Regions from separate parts of the Homo sapiens genome. Here regions 1, 2, 3 and 4 are each linked to region 5. Evidence: promoter capture Hi-C in 16 types of primary human blood cells and fetal thymus (Javierre and others, 2016). All regions are on one chromosome and are shown on one strand. The core of a region is centred on a gene start or on the middle of the fragment in contact, and the rest is flanking DNA. Distances in the headings are between cores, read along the strand shown. Region 1 overlaps ARFGAP3 (ARF GTPase activating protein 3). Region 2 holds the start of LOC101927393 (a long non-coding RNA gene). Region 3 overlaps ARFGAP3 (ARF GTPase activating protein 3). Region 4 overlaps ARFGAP3 (ARF GTPase activating protein 3). Region 5 holds the start of CYB5R3 (cytochrome b5 reductase 3).

The links. Contacts are between HindIII fragments. The CHiCAGO score rates a contact against its expected background, and 5 or more counts as called.
Region 1: a contact is called between a fragment that was not itself captured here and the fragment with the promoter of CYB5R3 in region 5, in 5 of 17 cell types (endothelial precursors, M2 macrophages, erythroblasts and 2 more). The highest score is 8.5, in endothelial precursors.
Region 2: a contact is called between a fragment that was not itself captured here and the fragment with the promoter of CYB5R3 in region 5, in 3 of 17 cell types (endothelial precursors, total B cells and megakaryocytes). The highest score is 6.5, in endothelial precursors.
Region 3: a contact is called between a fragment that was not itself captured here and the fragment with the promoter of CYB5R3 in region 5, in 1 of 17 cell types (endothelial precursors). The highest score is 10.2, in endothelial precursors.
Region 4: a fragment that was not itself captured here is called in contact with the fragment with the promoter of CYB5R3 in region 5 in 4 of 17 cell types (endothelial precursors, M2 macrophages, megakaryocytes and 1 more); the score reaches 8.4 in endothelial precursors.

The regions. Positions count from the first base shown.
Region 1 is chr22:42,821,652-42,824,351 of GRCh38, reverse strand. ARFGAP3 (ARF GTPase activating protein 3) reads left to right here. Exons shown (of 16, transcript NM_014570.5): 8 at 650-696; 9 at 1,943-2,082. Among named protein-coding and RNA genes, the nearest start is that of ARFGAP3, 34 kb to the left of the region's middle. The HindIII fragment of the contact is 1,160 bases long and covers 741-1,900 here.
Region 2 is chr22:42,869,379-42,872,256 of GRCh38, reverse strand. PACSIN2 (protein kinase C and casein kinase substrate in neurons 2) reads left to right here. Exons shown (of 11, transcript NM_001184970.3): 11 at 788-2,484. The coding sequence ends at 900. It overlaps LOC101927393 (a long non-coding RNA gene), which reads right to left and starts at 843. Exons shown (of 3, transcript XR_001755575.2): 1 at 754-843; 2 at 172-272. The HindIII fragment of the contact is 295 bases long and covers 1,285-1,579 here.
Region 3 is chr22:42,840,141-42,842,902 of GRCh38, reverse strand. ARFGAP3 (ARF GTPase activating protein 3) reads left to right here. Exons shown (of 16, transcript NM_014570.5): 3 at 1,887-1,959. Among named protein-coding and RNA genes, the nearest start is that of ARFGAP3, 16 kb to the left of the region's middle. The HindIII fragment of the contact is 407 bases long and covers 1,092-1,498 here.
Region 4 is chr22:42,796,950-42,799,649 of GRCh38, reverse strand. ARFGAP3 (ARF GTPase activating protein 3) reads left to right here. Exons shown (of 16, transcript NM_014570.5): 15 at 490-611; 16 at 2,045-2,700. The coding sequence ends at 2,062. Among named protein-coding and RNA genes, the nearest start is that of ARFGAP3, 59 kb to the left of the region's middle. RefSeq lists an enhancer at 1-107. The HindIII fragment of the contact is 2,814 bases long and covers 1-2,673 here.
Region 5 is chr22:42,648,097-42,650,796 of GRCh38, reverse strand. It overlaps CYB5R3 (cytochrome b5 reductase 3), which reads left to right and starts at 1,405. Exons shown (of 9, transcript NM_000398.7): 1 at 1,405-1,502. The coding sequence starts at 1,482. RefSeq lists silencers at 925-1,024, 1,335-1,524, 1,545-1,894 and an enhancer at 417-1,230. The HindIII fragment of the contact is 5,222 bases long and covers 1-2,700 here.

The sequences.
Region 1 (2,700 bases), core at 71-2,570, 170 kb before region 5:
TTTTAAAGTTTTTGAAGAGTAGCACTTGATAAAAGAGTTGTGGCATGGTGGCTCATACTCATAATTTCAGCACTTTGAGAGGCTGAGGCAGGAGCATCACTTGAGCCCAGGAGTCCAAGACCAGTCTGGGCAACATAGCAAGACACCCATCTCTAAAAAAAAAAAAAAAAAAAAAAAAAAATAGCCAGATGTGGTGGTGCGCACCTGTGATCCCAACTACTCAGGAGGCTGAAGTGGAAGGCTCCCTTGATCTGGGAGGTAATGCCACTGCACTCAGCTAAGGTGACAGAGCGAGACCCTGTCTCAAAAAAAAAAAAAAAGTTGTTGTAATATATTTTTTAAATGCTCCTGAAGAAAGTACTGAGAGGGGCAAGCTCAGGCTCTATTTCTCTTCAGTGTGCTGTTAAAAAAAAAAATACATTTTCTCTGAGTTTGGAGACTGCGTGGAAATACTGAGGACACCATTTTGACAAAGTTCTGTTAATCCAAAATATGCTTATCAACTTGAGTCTTCTGGATGAGAAACTAAAGTGGAAAATGTTATCATCTCTTAAATAATAAAGTGCAGTATCTTAGAATTTTAAAAGACACACTAAAAAAGAAAAATTATTTCTATTGGTCTTACTTTTTAATTTTTATTTTTTGGCAGAGGTATCCTCTATCATAAAAAAGAAACCAAATCAAGCTAAAAAAGGCGTGAGTATTATGTACTTTATATATAAAAATCTGGTAGTTAAGCTTTAAAACTAAAAAGCCGCTTCGTCATTTTAGTTTTATTCTTTTGAACCATCTTGTAATAAATGTAGCTTTGATATAAGGAGTCTATGTTTTGTTCAAAGAGATTAATGTCAAAGAGATTAATGTTATACTTATTGAATTTTTTCTAGAATGATTATTTAACATTTTTTCTGTCTATGACAAAATTCTGAAAAAAATTAACAAAGGTCCCCTGGGAATTTGTCTCCTGCTTGTGTAGATCAATAAGCAATGACATCTTGTGAGGCTTAGAGGGTGGTTGTCTGGTGAGTTTTCAGATACAGCGAAGCATTGCGGAGCACCAGCTCTGGAGGCAGGTGCAGGGTTTGAATCCTGGCCTTGCCATGTATTGGCTGTGTGACCTTGGCCACATTCCTTAACTTATATGAGCTTTACTTTCCTCAGCCCTCTGTATCCAGGGGTTCTGCATCCATGGATTCAACCAATTGCAGATCAAAATTATTTGGGGGGGAAAAAAAAACAATAGGCCAGGCGTAGTGACTCACGCCTGTAATCCCAGCACTTTGGGAGGCCGAGGCAGGTGGATCACTTGAGCCCCGGAGTTCAAGACCAGCCTGGGCAAAATGGTGAAATCCCATCTCTTCAAAAAATACAAAAAGTAGCCGGATTTGGTGGCCCGTGCCTGTAGTCCCAGCTACTCGGGATACTAAGGTGGGAGGATCGCTTTACCCCAGGAGGCAGAGGTTGCAGTGAGCTGAGATTGTGCCACTGTACTCCAGCTTGGTCAACAGCATGAGAGCCTGTCTCAAAAAAAGTAAAAAAAAATAAAAAGTAAGAATACAACAGTAAAAACAATACAAATAAAAACACAGAATTAGTAACTATTTTCATAGCATTTACATTATTTAGGCATAATAAGTAATCTAGAGATGATTGAAAGTATACTGGAGGCTACACGTGGGTTAAATGCAGATACTACGCCCTTTTACGTAAGGGACTTGATCATCGCAGATTTTGTTATCCACAGGGTCGTGAAACCAATTCCCCCATGCTGAGGGACTCCTGGAATAATACTAACTTCACAGAGTTCTGAGGACTAAGCCACAGAACAAATGTAGAGTGCTTGTCACAGTGCCTGGCAGGTCCTAACCCTTAGGAAATGTTAGCTGTAGTCACAGAAGCTTTCAAACAGCTCGTGTAGACTATAGTCTTATATATGTTCTAGCTTGGGGCCAAAAAAGGAAGTTTGGGAGCTCAGAAACTGGCAAACACATGCTTTAATGAAATTGAAAAACAAGCTCAAGCTGCGGATAAAATGAAGGAGCAGGAAGACCTGGCCAAGGTGGTATCTAAAGAAGAATCAATGTAAGTTTAATTTCATTATATTAATACATTTTCAGGGAATAAAACTATTAACTCAAGATTTTGCTTTCCAAATGCCATGTATTTTTGTGTGGGGGGGGAAGGGAGGGTACTGCAAAATTCAGTTTTATGAAAACTGATATTGCATTGGCATGTGGATTGGAAGGGAAAGAGACGATGGGGGCAGCAACACTCTGCTGAGGCTGTAAGGGCAAGACTGGAGTGACATCAGTGAGAAGGGAAAGACAGAGATGCATGGAGGTGTTTACACATGAAACATGCTTCACATTATTAGAGTTGGGGAAATGCAAATCAAGGCCACAATAAGATACCACTGTGTACTCTCTAGGGAAGCTATAATAAAAAAATCAGTAACAGGTGTTGGCTAGGATGTGGAGAAATTTGAACCCTTGTACATTGCTGATGGCAATGTGAAATGGTGCCACTGTTGTGAAAAACAGTTTGGCAGTCCTTCAGAAAGTTAAATGTAAAGTTTCCATGTGACCCAGCAAATCTACTCCTAAGTATATACTCAAGAGAAATTAAAACTTACATCTGTGCAACCACACACAAACTCGTGCATGAATGTTCATAGTGGCGTTAATCCTAATAGCCAAAAAG
Region 2 (2,878 bases), core at 183-2,682, 220 kb before region 5:
TGGGGCCCTACCCTAGTGCCACCTCCCCCTCACCACCCTAGTCTGCCTCCTTGAGACCAGGATCCATCAGTTCCTCTCATCTCTGTATCTCCTCTTCTACCCAAGGCCTGGCCAGAAGTAGGAGGTCCTTCAGGTTGGAACAACCAAAGATAAATGGAACCACGTTAATACATTAGAGCCACAGGGAGATTCCAGAACAGCGCCAGGGGCTCCTTCTCAGGGTCTCAGGAAGGGTTGACACATGGCACCGTGCACAAGTCATCAGCCAGGTGCTGGGGATAAAATGACAGGTATGACTGTCAGACATGGTCCCTTCCCCTCGCAGCCTGGAAGTTGCAGAGGAGAGGGATTAGCAAAGGCAGAGAGACCCCAGAGACAGCTGCTGGGAGCAAGGCGGCCGGGGCCCTGGGGAGGGGACAGAAGAGGCCCAACGTGAGGGAGGGGCACAACCGAGGGACGATTCCTGCCACCTGGCCAGGGTGGTGAGGAAGGCACAGCCCTATGGAGCTGGATGCCGCAGTCTCAGTGGGAGCCACTGTGGCAGCTGAGAGCAGCTTGTTCCAAATTACTGTGTGAGACTGTCATCTCTAGGTCTGTCAGAGGCCCATGACCAAAGAGGCAACTTAAAATGCATGCATTTAGTAGAGAAATGACCAGGCCCTCGGCCTGCCCGCCACAGAATGCCTGGCCCTCCACCCTCTGTGGGCTCAAAGCTCGTGAATGCGGCTCTGTAGCCCACCGTCGGTGTCATACCTCTCATGGAGACGGCTCCCTCTTTGTCTTGCAGGGGATGAGCTGACCAAGATGGAGGACGAGGATGAGCAGGGCTGGTGCAAGGGACGCTTGGACAACGGGCAAGTTGGCCTATACCCGGCAAATTATGTGGAGGCGATCCAGTGATGAGTCGGGGACAGGCCAGCGGGGGGACGGAGGCGGCGGGCCCAGGAGCCTCAGCCAGCCACGTGGGCATCCACTCCTTTTCCTGCAAGAGATGATGGTTCCATTGCTCTTGGCTTCATGGTGTTCCTGGAAGGCAGATGAGCTGGTCATTTCGCCTGGGACTCGGCACCTTTCCGAGTGCAGCTGGAGGGATCTGAGCGCAGGAAGACGCAGAACAACAGAAATAGCCGCCCCTCCCCGCCCACTGTGCCTGTTGGCCTATCATAGATCTCTATGTTCTTGACTTTGTCTCTCCTTTCCGAGTCAATGGTGGGTTACACTGATCTTGTTCCACTGATTACTCTCTCTGACGAGTCCATCACCTGCAACTTAAATGAACAAGCTTACATCCCATTTTGAGTGAAGATTTTGAGGTTTTTAATTTAAAGGCTGTGTACAGTTATACTTTTTTATACACCTGTTCATTTCTACTTAAATTATGGCACAGATTGATGCGCACCAGTCTTGAGGAAACGATCTCCCTATTCCCTTACCCTGTTACTCAGCCACGCCGTGTGTAGGCTTAGCCTCAGGTGGCAGATGTTTGAGGAAAGGAATTATGCCAGGAAGGTGGGACCGGGTTATGGTCGGGTTTCTATTGGGAATGCTCTTTGTGCTTTTGGGCATCTGAATGGAAGCTTTACATAGAACCTTAGGTAGAACTCCCCCAAATCGCCATATTTAAAAATTATTTTCACTCTATTCTTGCTTAAAACTGTACTCTTTTGCAAATTAACAATTTTATCACTGATTCAGAGTTAAAAAGAAGACTAACTTTTCAAGCAAATGCATCTGTAAAGATGCTTTAGATTAGACTGTCATGTCTCAGTGTCTATCTGTATATATTATTTGATATTCAGAGAATCTAAAGCACTCGTCTACTGTTTTAATGAGATTTAACAGCTTTTAACAGTGAGTTTCGTTTGTAAACTGCTTGAAGTCTGTGGCATTCAGGCACACGTCTGGCTGGCCGGCTGGGTCTCCTCCCGGGCTCAGTGGGCCTGGGGCCTCTCTGACGTGGTGCCTGCTGGAGGGAGGCTCGTCGTCACCAGCTGACTGCTGGTCCGGCTTCTGACCGGCCTTTGTCCTGGCTCCGTAGCAGAACACTGTAAAAGTGCCCGCGTCTTTGCAGTAGTTGCAGATTTCAGTCGTCGTGTTACTTGTGCACAAACAGAAGCTGGGTCTTACCCGCAGCACGAGTGTCTCGGGCTGCCCGGAGTCGCCCGGGAGCAGGTGCTGCAGCCAGAGTTACGCGGGGGCCACGCGGGCCGGCGGGGGTGGGGGGAACGTGGGGGAACCTGTGTTTCACGTGACTCAGCAGTGCCCGCCGCCGTCACCAGCTATGCATTCACTCCGTTTCCAGTGAGCAGATGTCTTGCTTGGAAAGTGGACCTGTGTCTGTGTCTGTCCTGAGAACTTACCAGCAGAAATCCTCATTTCTGTGCTACGGATTTACCAAAAATTGTCAAGTCTTTTTCAGTTTAACAGTTCCTTTACATGTGTAGTATTTGAGGAAAAAAATCAATAAACAGTTGATCTCGTGCATATGGAAGTCCCTTCGCCATCATCTGTCTTCATGCCCACTTCACTTGGCGGGGGTGGCCTCCCTGGGGCTTACTAGCTTTGGAGCTGGGCAAGATCCAGGGCACAGGACCCCTGCCCAAAAGGCCACGGCCCACTGCCCCTGCCAAACTGGAGGTTGGGGATTTGAGGCACCTGAGCCCCTTGGGGTTCCCTTCTCCCCGAGACCTGCTGCTGTTTGACCTGGGCTTCCACATGGTGCGGGCATCGGCTGGCGCCTCTCTATTGCCCCAGCCCAAACAGCAGGACAAGACTGACATCACCCATAACTCTCCTATGAGCACATTTTCCTGAGCACCTACTGTGTGCTCTCCACTTTTTACTTACATTATCTGCGTCTCCAAACATCTCCACAGGG
Region 3 (2,762 bases), core at 46-2,545, 190 kb before region 5:
GATGATGACCAGGGCAGAATCTGGGCTCCTGCTCGGTGGACACTGGGGAGAACCTTTTTATGATGTTGGCGTAGAAAGGCAACGCTTTTTATGACCTTATAGAGGTAATCAAACAAGTTATAAACAAAGGGCGGCTGGGAAATTACTGAGATTGTCTATAAGTAAAACTCTAGATTAATAATGGTATGCACTTTGGGAGGCTGAGATGAGGGGATTGCTTGAGGCCAGGAGTTCGAGACTAGCCTGGCGAACATGGCAAAACCCCGTCTCTACTAAAATTACGAAAATTAGCCAGGTGTGGTTCCGCACGCCTCTAATCCCAGCTACCTCTGGAGGCTGGGGCACAAGAATTGCTTGAATCCAGAAGGCAGAGATTACCATGAGCTGAGATCGCCTCACTGCACTCTAGCCTGGGCAACAGAACGAGGCTGTGTCTCAAAAAAAAAAAGGTATGGTTCACTGGGCATGGTGGCTCACACCTGTAATCCCAACACTGAGAGGCTGAGGTGGGAGGATTGCCTGAGCCCAGGAGTTCTAGACCATCTTGGGCAACATAACAAGACCCTATCTCTATTTAAAAAAAAAAAAAAAAAAAAAAGGCCAGGCACGGTGGCTCATGCCTGTAATCACAGTACTTTGGGAGGCCAAGGTGGGTGGATCACCTAAGGTCGGGAGTTTGAGACCAACCTGACCAACATGAAGAAACCCTGTCTCTGCTAAAAATACAAAAATTAGCCGGGCGTAGTGACACCTGCCTGTTATCCCAGCTACCCAGGAGGCTGAGGCAGGAGAATCACTTGAACCCAGGAGGCAGAGGTTGCGGTGAGTCAAGATCGCACCATTGCACTCCAGCCGGGGCAACTCCGTCTCAAAAAAAAAAAAAAAAAAAAAGCCCGGCATGGTAGCTACCATCTACTTGGGAGGTTGAGACAGGAGGATTGCTTGAGCAATCCTGGTTGAGGCTGCAATGAGCTGTGATCACACCACTCCATTCCTGGGTGATGGAGTGAGACCCTGTCTCAAAAAAAAAAAAAAAAGAAATTAGTAAATATAAGGGCAGCACAAAGGAAAGTTTTGGTGGACCTAAAGCTTCTTTTCTTTTCTTTCTTCCTTGCCCATTTTGTAAAAGGTATTCTGCCTATACTCATTCTAAAATATCCACATTCCTTTACAGTTAGTGTAGGGCAAGCTATTACTGAATAACAACCTCTGCTTTTTGCTCATTTCTGTGGATTCAGTATAAAGATTCTAACATTGTTGCTTTACCGTCGACCCCTTGGGGAATGTGCATTGTTGAGGCTATACTCACTGCCTTTACTTGTTTCAGATTTGATCTTACAGTGGAGAGAAGTTAGGCATAAGGTGTGGAAGGGGCAGGAAGTGCTTGTAGCTTTCACTTCAGGAGCATGAAATCTTGTGTTTTTTCCTCTCTCTGCTGGTCGTGATGTTGGGTAGGTCTCTTCTACCTTGTGATAAGAGAATGAGCATCCTCCAAGCTTCTGGTAGCGATCAAACTGGACAAGTAGATCACCGACCTGAAAACATCCAAACAGTGCATCTGTTTCAAGTAGAGACACATTACCAAATTTCAAATCATATCCAACCAAGGATGGGAGGCAAAGAGTTGGTGTCGTTCCAGCAGCCCGCTGACACTTGTCATGTCCCTGTGCCCTGCATTCCAGGAAGGACGAGAGGAGCCAGGGGTTGCTCACGCCAACCATCATCCACTCTGGAGTCCTAGCATCCCAAAAGTGTGGGTCCTTGTTGACACAAACTTAGAATTCTTTAGGATCCTAAAGCCTAAGGAAACCTTGTTCTCAAAAGCTCACTGATTTTGCTCCTGGGGATAAAAAATATTAACAGTTAGTAATATTCTTTCCATTTAGATCTACAGAGTTGGATTCCAACTGGTCATGGTTTCAGTTGCGATGCATGCAAGTCGGAGGAAACGCTAGTGCAGTAAGTTCATCTCAAACTCGTCATTTTCCTTCTTGTTTAAATATTTGTTATGCTATAATAGTAAAGAAGCTCAGGCTAGGTGCAGTGGCTCATGCCTGTAATCTCAGCCATTTGGGAGGCTGAAATTACAGGCGTTTGGGAGGATCACTGGAGCCCAGGAGTTCAAGACCACCCTGGGCAACATGGCAAGACCCTCTGTTTATAAAAAACAAACAAGTCAGGTGTGGTGTCTCACGCCTGTAATCCCAACACTTTGGGAGGCTGAGGCGGGCGGATCACTTGAGGTCAAGAGTTCGAGACCAGCCTGGCCAACATGGTGGAACCCCATCTCTACTAAAAAAAAAATAATAATAACAAAAATTAGCTGGGTATGGTGGTGCACACCTGTAATCCCAGCTACTCGGGAGGCTGAGGCGGGAGAGTTGCATGAACCTGGGAGGCAGAGGTTGCAGTGAGCCGAGATCACACCACTGCACTCCAGCCTGGGTGACAGAGCGAGACTCCATCCCAAAAAAACAAACAAACAAACAAAAAGAGTTCAATACTTGAAAGTTTGGGAGGCCCTATGAGAAGAAGCAGAGAGCCTGATGGGTTTTGGAGTTGGACAGACCCAGTTGACTTGTTTATTCAAAAATCTGTTAAACACCTAATAAACAGGAAGCGTTGGCTAGCTGCTGGGGATATAGTGACAGACAAGACAAACAAGATCCCCAGCTGGGCACGGTGGCTCATGCTTGTAATCCTAGAACTTTGGGAGGCTGAGGCAGGCAGATCGCCTTGAGCCCATGAATGTAAGACTGACC
Region 4 (2,700 bases), core at 17-2,516, 150 kb before region 5:
GGTCAGGCCTGGGTCATGTGCCCATGCCTGTGGACAGGGTAGAAGGGAGAGGTGGTTCCTGGAGGAAGGGAGGAGTACTGTTACCAAAAGAGGGAGGAGGTGATGAGAAACAGGCCATCCGTGTTGGCCCATCTGCCTTTTGCTGGGTACTTACCTGCCAGGGCTATGTTAAGCACCTTGAGGAAATGGGCCCAGAGAGAGCAAGGAACTTCTCTAGAGGCACACAGCCTAGAAGTGACAGTGCCAGGATTTGAACTCATAGTGGTGTTAAGTCCCCCATACTACATTTTCTGTCGTGTGGATTCTCTCATGTGGATCATGGCAGGGCTGCCACTTCAGCCCGAGTCTCCATCCCACTGTTGGGCCCCTTGTGAGGCAGCAGGAGGGGAGAGATCCGGGTTCTCTGGAGCCGTTGAGCACTCTGGGTACTGGGTTTGCCGCAGCTGTGGCCAGGGCAGTGATGAGACAGTGTCTGCTGTGTGTGTGCAGGGAACTACAGCCTGTCCAGTGTGCTGCCCAACGCCCCCGACATGGCGCAGTTCAAGCAGGGAGTGAGATCGGTTGCTGGAAAACTCTCCGTCTTTGCTAATGGAGTCGTGACTTCAATTCAGGTCAGTGGAATGGGGCAGTGCTCACTGGCTATGACGGTAGGTTCAGCAGTTTGAAAATGAGACCTGCTTCAATCTTCAACTGCTGGAAAATTCAATTATATATTATTGGATCGATATGTTTGCTACACTATAACCCAGAACATTATGAAAACCAGAAATTATAATTTTATATTTAATATTTTCTAACGGATGACTCTAGGGGAATTGTTAGAGGAATTGTCATGACCATTGTCCAGTTTTTTTCCTAGATTGGAACAGAGAAGTATTAAGAAGAAAACTGAAATTATCTGTAATGCCACATCACAGGGATAACCTCTGTTAATATTTTGGTATATTTTTAGCTCTAGATTTCTAAGGATATTTTTCTATACGTAGATTAAAAAGATATACATATCTATCTTTTTAAAGTTAAAAAGGGATTATATTGTATAGAGGGTTTTATATCTTGCTTTTTCTCTGTGATGCTGGGAGCATTTCCTTGTAATGAAAAGTTTTCCTAAAACCACATTCTATTGAGTGAAAACATAAGCCAAGGATGGCGCATACTTGCGCATGAGAGTCGAGGCCATCTGTGACGATATGAGTGGCTCGTTTCTTTGCACCTTCTTGTTTACGTCAGGCTATTGAAGAAGGATTGTATTAATGTAAAACGCTGCTAAAGGAAGTAGGACTGAAACCGTGTGGACTCTGGTGCCTCCAAAGGAGATTCCTGGTCCCCAGGCAGATGCTGCTCTAGCTGCAGTTCAAGGAGGGCGTGGAGGTGCACCCATTCCGGAGAGTTCCCTCAGCCCCAGGACTCTGGATGTAGCCGTTTTCATGCTGTGAATAGCACAGTCTTCCCTTTCATGTGGCACTGAAGTTAAAATGCATAGAGCTCTTTCATGTCCCTTAGGTCAGCTAAGCCCACATCAGTGTCCAAATAGGTAACATCCCTATTTTATAGATGGTCATCCCCATTTTAGAGATGGCTCCCTTTTATATCCCCATTTTACAGGTGAAGGAATTGAGGCACAGAAGGTTAGGTCACTTCTGCAAGATGACCAGCTGAACCAAAATTTCAGGGCTTCAAACACCAAATGTGTTCCTTTGTCTTCCGTTTCCCACTTGCTTCCCAGAGGGCTCAGCAAGTTGCCTCTGGCCCACTGAGCATCCTCCCGCCCACTTTGCTCCCTGCCTCCTGATCCCAGGACTGTGGCCGTGGATGCCAGAGGCAGGATGTGAATCCTGTTGGGTTCTGAAGCCCACACCTACCCTCAGCCTTGAAGCTGCAGCAATGGCTGCTTCCAGATGAGCACACCCTCGGGGTGCAGCGTCCATGTCACATGCCTGACATGGGCTGCAGTGTCAATTTGGGTGATGCTGAATATTCAGGGCGTGGGAGTCAGGGATCGCTGCTGAATGGTCGTGAACTTCCATTTTGGTTCTCTCTTCAGGATCGCTACGGTTCTTAATACTGAAGTCATGATGTGTATTTCCTGGAGAAATTCCTCTTTAAATGAACAAGTAACCACATCTCAGGCGGCAGTGAAGTCCAGATAGTTTTGCAGATTGTTTTGCTACTTTTTCATATGGTATATGTTTCTGATTTTTAATATTTCTTTTGAGAAATTCTGAGTTCTGATGTAGGAGCTTTCCTGTGATTTCTGTTTCACGTTCCTTCCTGTCACACCCTCCTTTGGCGTCTCTGTGTATATCCTTGCTTTATTTTCTTGGAACCTTTGATTTCAACACTGAGGGCCTGGAGACCTCGGCTCCTCCTGCTCCTGAACCAGGAGGCTTCATGTGGGGGAGGAGGAGAGGTCTCCATGTGACACATGGGCTCAGGGCTGCCAGAATCAGCGGATGCTGGATGGGCCTGCAGAAACAACACTCACCACACACACTTCCTTCAAAAGACCAAAAGTGACTGGTGTCTCGTGTGACAGATTGCTTCATTTATGTTTCTACATAGTAAGGTGACTGCCAAATAATATTTGAAGTCATCTGTCTCTTTGTAAATTATTTTATATGACCTATAAATTTAAAAATGTTTTTCAGTGAGTGCTTTTAACAAACTTAAGCTTCTGCCCTGCCAAGGGAATTAATGTTA
Region 5 (2,700 bases), core at 156-2,655:
AGTTCCCACCTGTAATCCCGGCACTTTGGGAAGCCGAGGCAGGTGGATCACCTGAGGTCGGAAGTTCGAGACCAGCCTCACCAACATGTTGAAACACCGTCTCTACTAAAAATACAAAATTAGGCCGGGCGCGGTGGCTCACGCCTGTAATCCCAGCACTTTGGGAGGCCGAGGCGGGCGGATCACGAGGTCAGGAGATCGAGACCATCCTCGCTAACACGGTGAAACCCCGTCCCTACTGAAAATACAAAAAATTAGCCGGGCGCGGTGGGGTGCCTGTAGTGCCAGCTACTCGGGAGGCTGAGAATGGCGTGAACCCTGGAGGCGGAGCTTGCATTGAGCCGAAATGGCGCCACTGCATTCCAGCCTGGGGGACAGGGCGAGACTCTGTCTCAAAAAAAAAAAAAAAAAAAAAAAAAAAAAGATTAGCTGGTTAGCCAGATGTGGTGGCACATGCCTGTAATTTCGGGAGGCTGAGGCAGGAGGATCTGTTGAACCCTGGAGGCGGAGTTTGCGGTGAGCCGAGATCGCGTCAATGCATACCAGCCTGGGCAACAAGAGCGAAACTGCGTCTCAAAAAAAAAAACAATTAGCCGGACGTGGTGGCATGTGCCCAGCTACTCAGGAGGTTGAGGCAGGAGGAACACTTGAGCCTGGGAGGTTGAGGCTAAAGTGAGCTGTGATCAGGCTCCTGCATTCCAGTCTGGGCAAGAGTGAGACCCTGCTTTACCAAAAAAAAAAAAAAAAAAAAAGGTATTTATTGAGCACCTACTATATGCTAGGCTCTGTGTGGCTAGGCTCTGGGGATGTACGGGACTTCAAACCAGATAGGGCCTTGCCCTCCGGGAGCGCACAGTCCACTGGGATGGGGTGGGAGTGGGGGAAACACGCAGGAGGCCTTCAGCTAAGTGGGACAAAGATCACTCCACAGTGGGACAATGGCGTGGGGAGCGGAGGCGCCGCCGGCGAGGAGGCTCCGGGCGGGCCGTGCTGAGACCGCAGCATTTAACCCGGCCCGAGGCAGCTGGGAACAGTGCTGCCCAGGGAACTACAAATTCAAAGGCCCGGGGAAGGGCCGCGCTGAGCAGCTGCAGGCACAGGCCCAGGCCAGGCCAGGCAGGACCGGCCCCTGCAGTCTCGGAGGCCGGGGGAAGATTCCGCCTCTTATTCTCGCTCCCATCCGGGGGGCGCCATCTTGCTTCCTTTATGGCGGCGAACGAGGCCCAGAGAGGCCACCGTCCCGCGCGGGGCAGCACAGCGGCGGGAGAGCTCGGAGCGCAGAGGGCCGCATCCCCAGTTCCCAGTCTCCATCCCCGGCAGAAGCAGGCGGAGCGACCCGGTCCCCGCCCCCGCGCCCGCCCCGCCCCGCGCGCCCGCCTGGCCCCTCGGCCCCGCCCCTGCTCCGGAGTGACGCGGGCCCGGGCGCGACGGTCTCGGCGGCGGCGGCGGCGGCGACAGAGCGAGCGCGGCGCGGGGCCACCATGGGGGCCCAGCTCAGCACGGTAGGCGGGGAGGGGGCGCCGGGGCCGCGGGGCGTCGCGAGGGACTGGGACCCGGCGGCGAGGGGGCGGGCTGGCCTGCGGGAGGTGACGCGGGACCCGGGCCGCACCCGGCCGCACCCACTTCGCCCGCCCAGCCCGCCGCGCCCCACCCCACCCCACAAGGGCCTGGGCGAGCTACGTGGTGACCGCTACTTACGCCCTGGCAGTCTGCAGCGGGGACCCAGCCCTCCTGCCCGGGGGGCGCGCCAGAGCCCAGCACCCGGGGGCACCTGGGCCCTGCCCTGGCCGCCGTGGGGCCTTGGCTGCTGGAGGGACCCGTGGTTGTGAGCGTGTGTGCCGCTGAGTGTGAGTGTGTGAGCGAGCGTGTGAATGGCTTGAGAGTGAATGTGTGTGTGAGTGTGACCGTGGGTGTGAAGGGCGGGCATGGAAACGTGTGATGGGGTGTGTGTGTGTGTACGGGAGTATGTGAATGGGCGATGTCACTGACTGCGACTGAACGTGTGTGTGTGTGCGATGTCACTATGTCAGAGGGTTTTGCACGTTTAGCAACAAGGAACAGAACCCGGATGACACGGGGGCATCCTCCCAATGCTCAGTGGGCCAGGCTCCCATCAAGGCCAGGCTCCCACTGACCCTGCAAGCTGTGCTGGGGACCTCACACTTTGCGGTGTCAGTGCTGTTTGCCCCATTTCACAGATGGGGAAATGCAAACTAGTCTTGGCCACCGTCCCACAACGCTGCCGCCGGAAGGAGCCTGCTCCATGGGGTTTCAAAGTCCACTCTGCTGCTGTCACTCCTGGGCTGGCCTAGAGCCACCTTCCCTTCCCCCCAGGCCACCTCCTCTCCCCAGTTTCTCAAAAGTTGACCATGGTGAGGCTGGAGGCTTGAGTCTGTGTGGACATGTGGAGGCTGCGGCTGCAGAGGGCAGCTCTCCTGTCAACTGTGACCCGCTAGGCGTGGGGAGGCTGGCACAGGAGGAATCAGCCCAGTGCTCCTCCACCTCCACCTCTACCTCTATGCCTGGCATCTGCCACTTGGAGGGCACCTGGGTCCTCCCTCCTTGGGGAGGACCTGGAGTCTCCTCCTTGGGGATCCAGGCAAAAGGCCTCTTGGCTTGGGTGGTTGCTAAGGAAAGTGTGGCCCAACCCAGAACTTCGGGATGTTCAGACCCCAGGCAACCTTGGCCAGGGTGAACCTG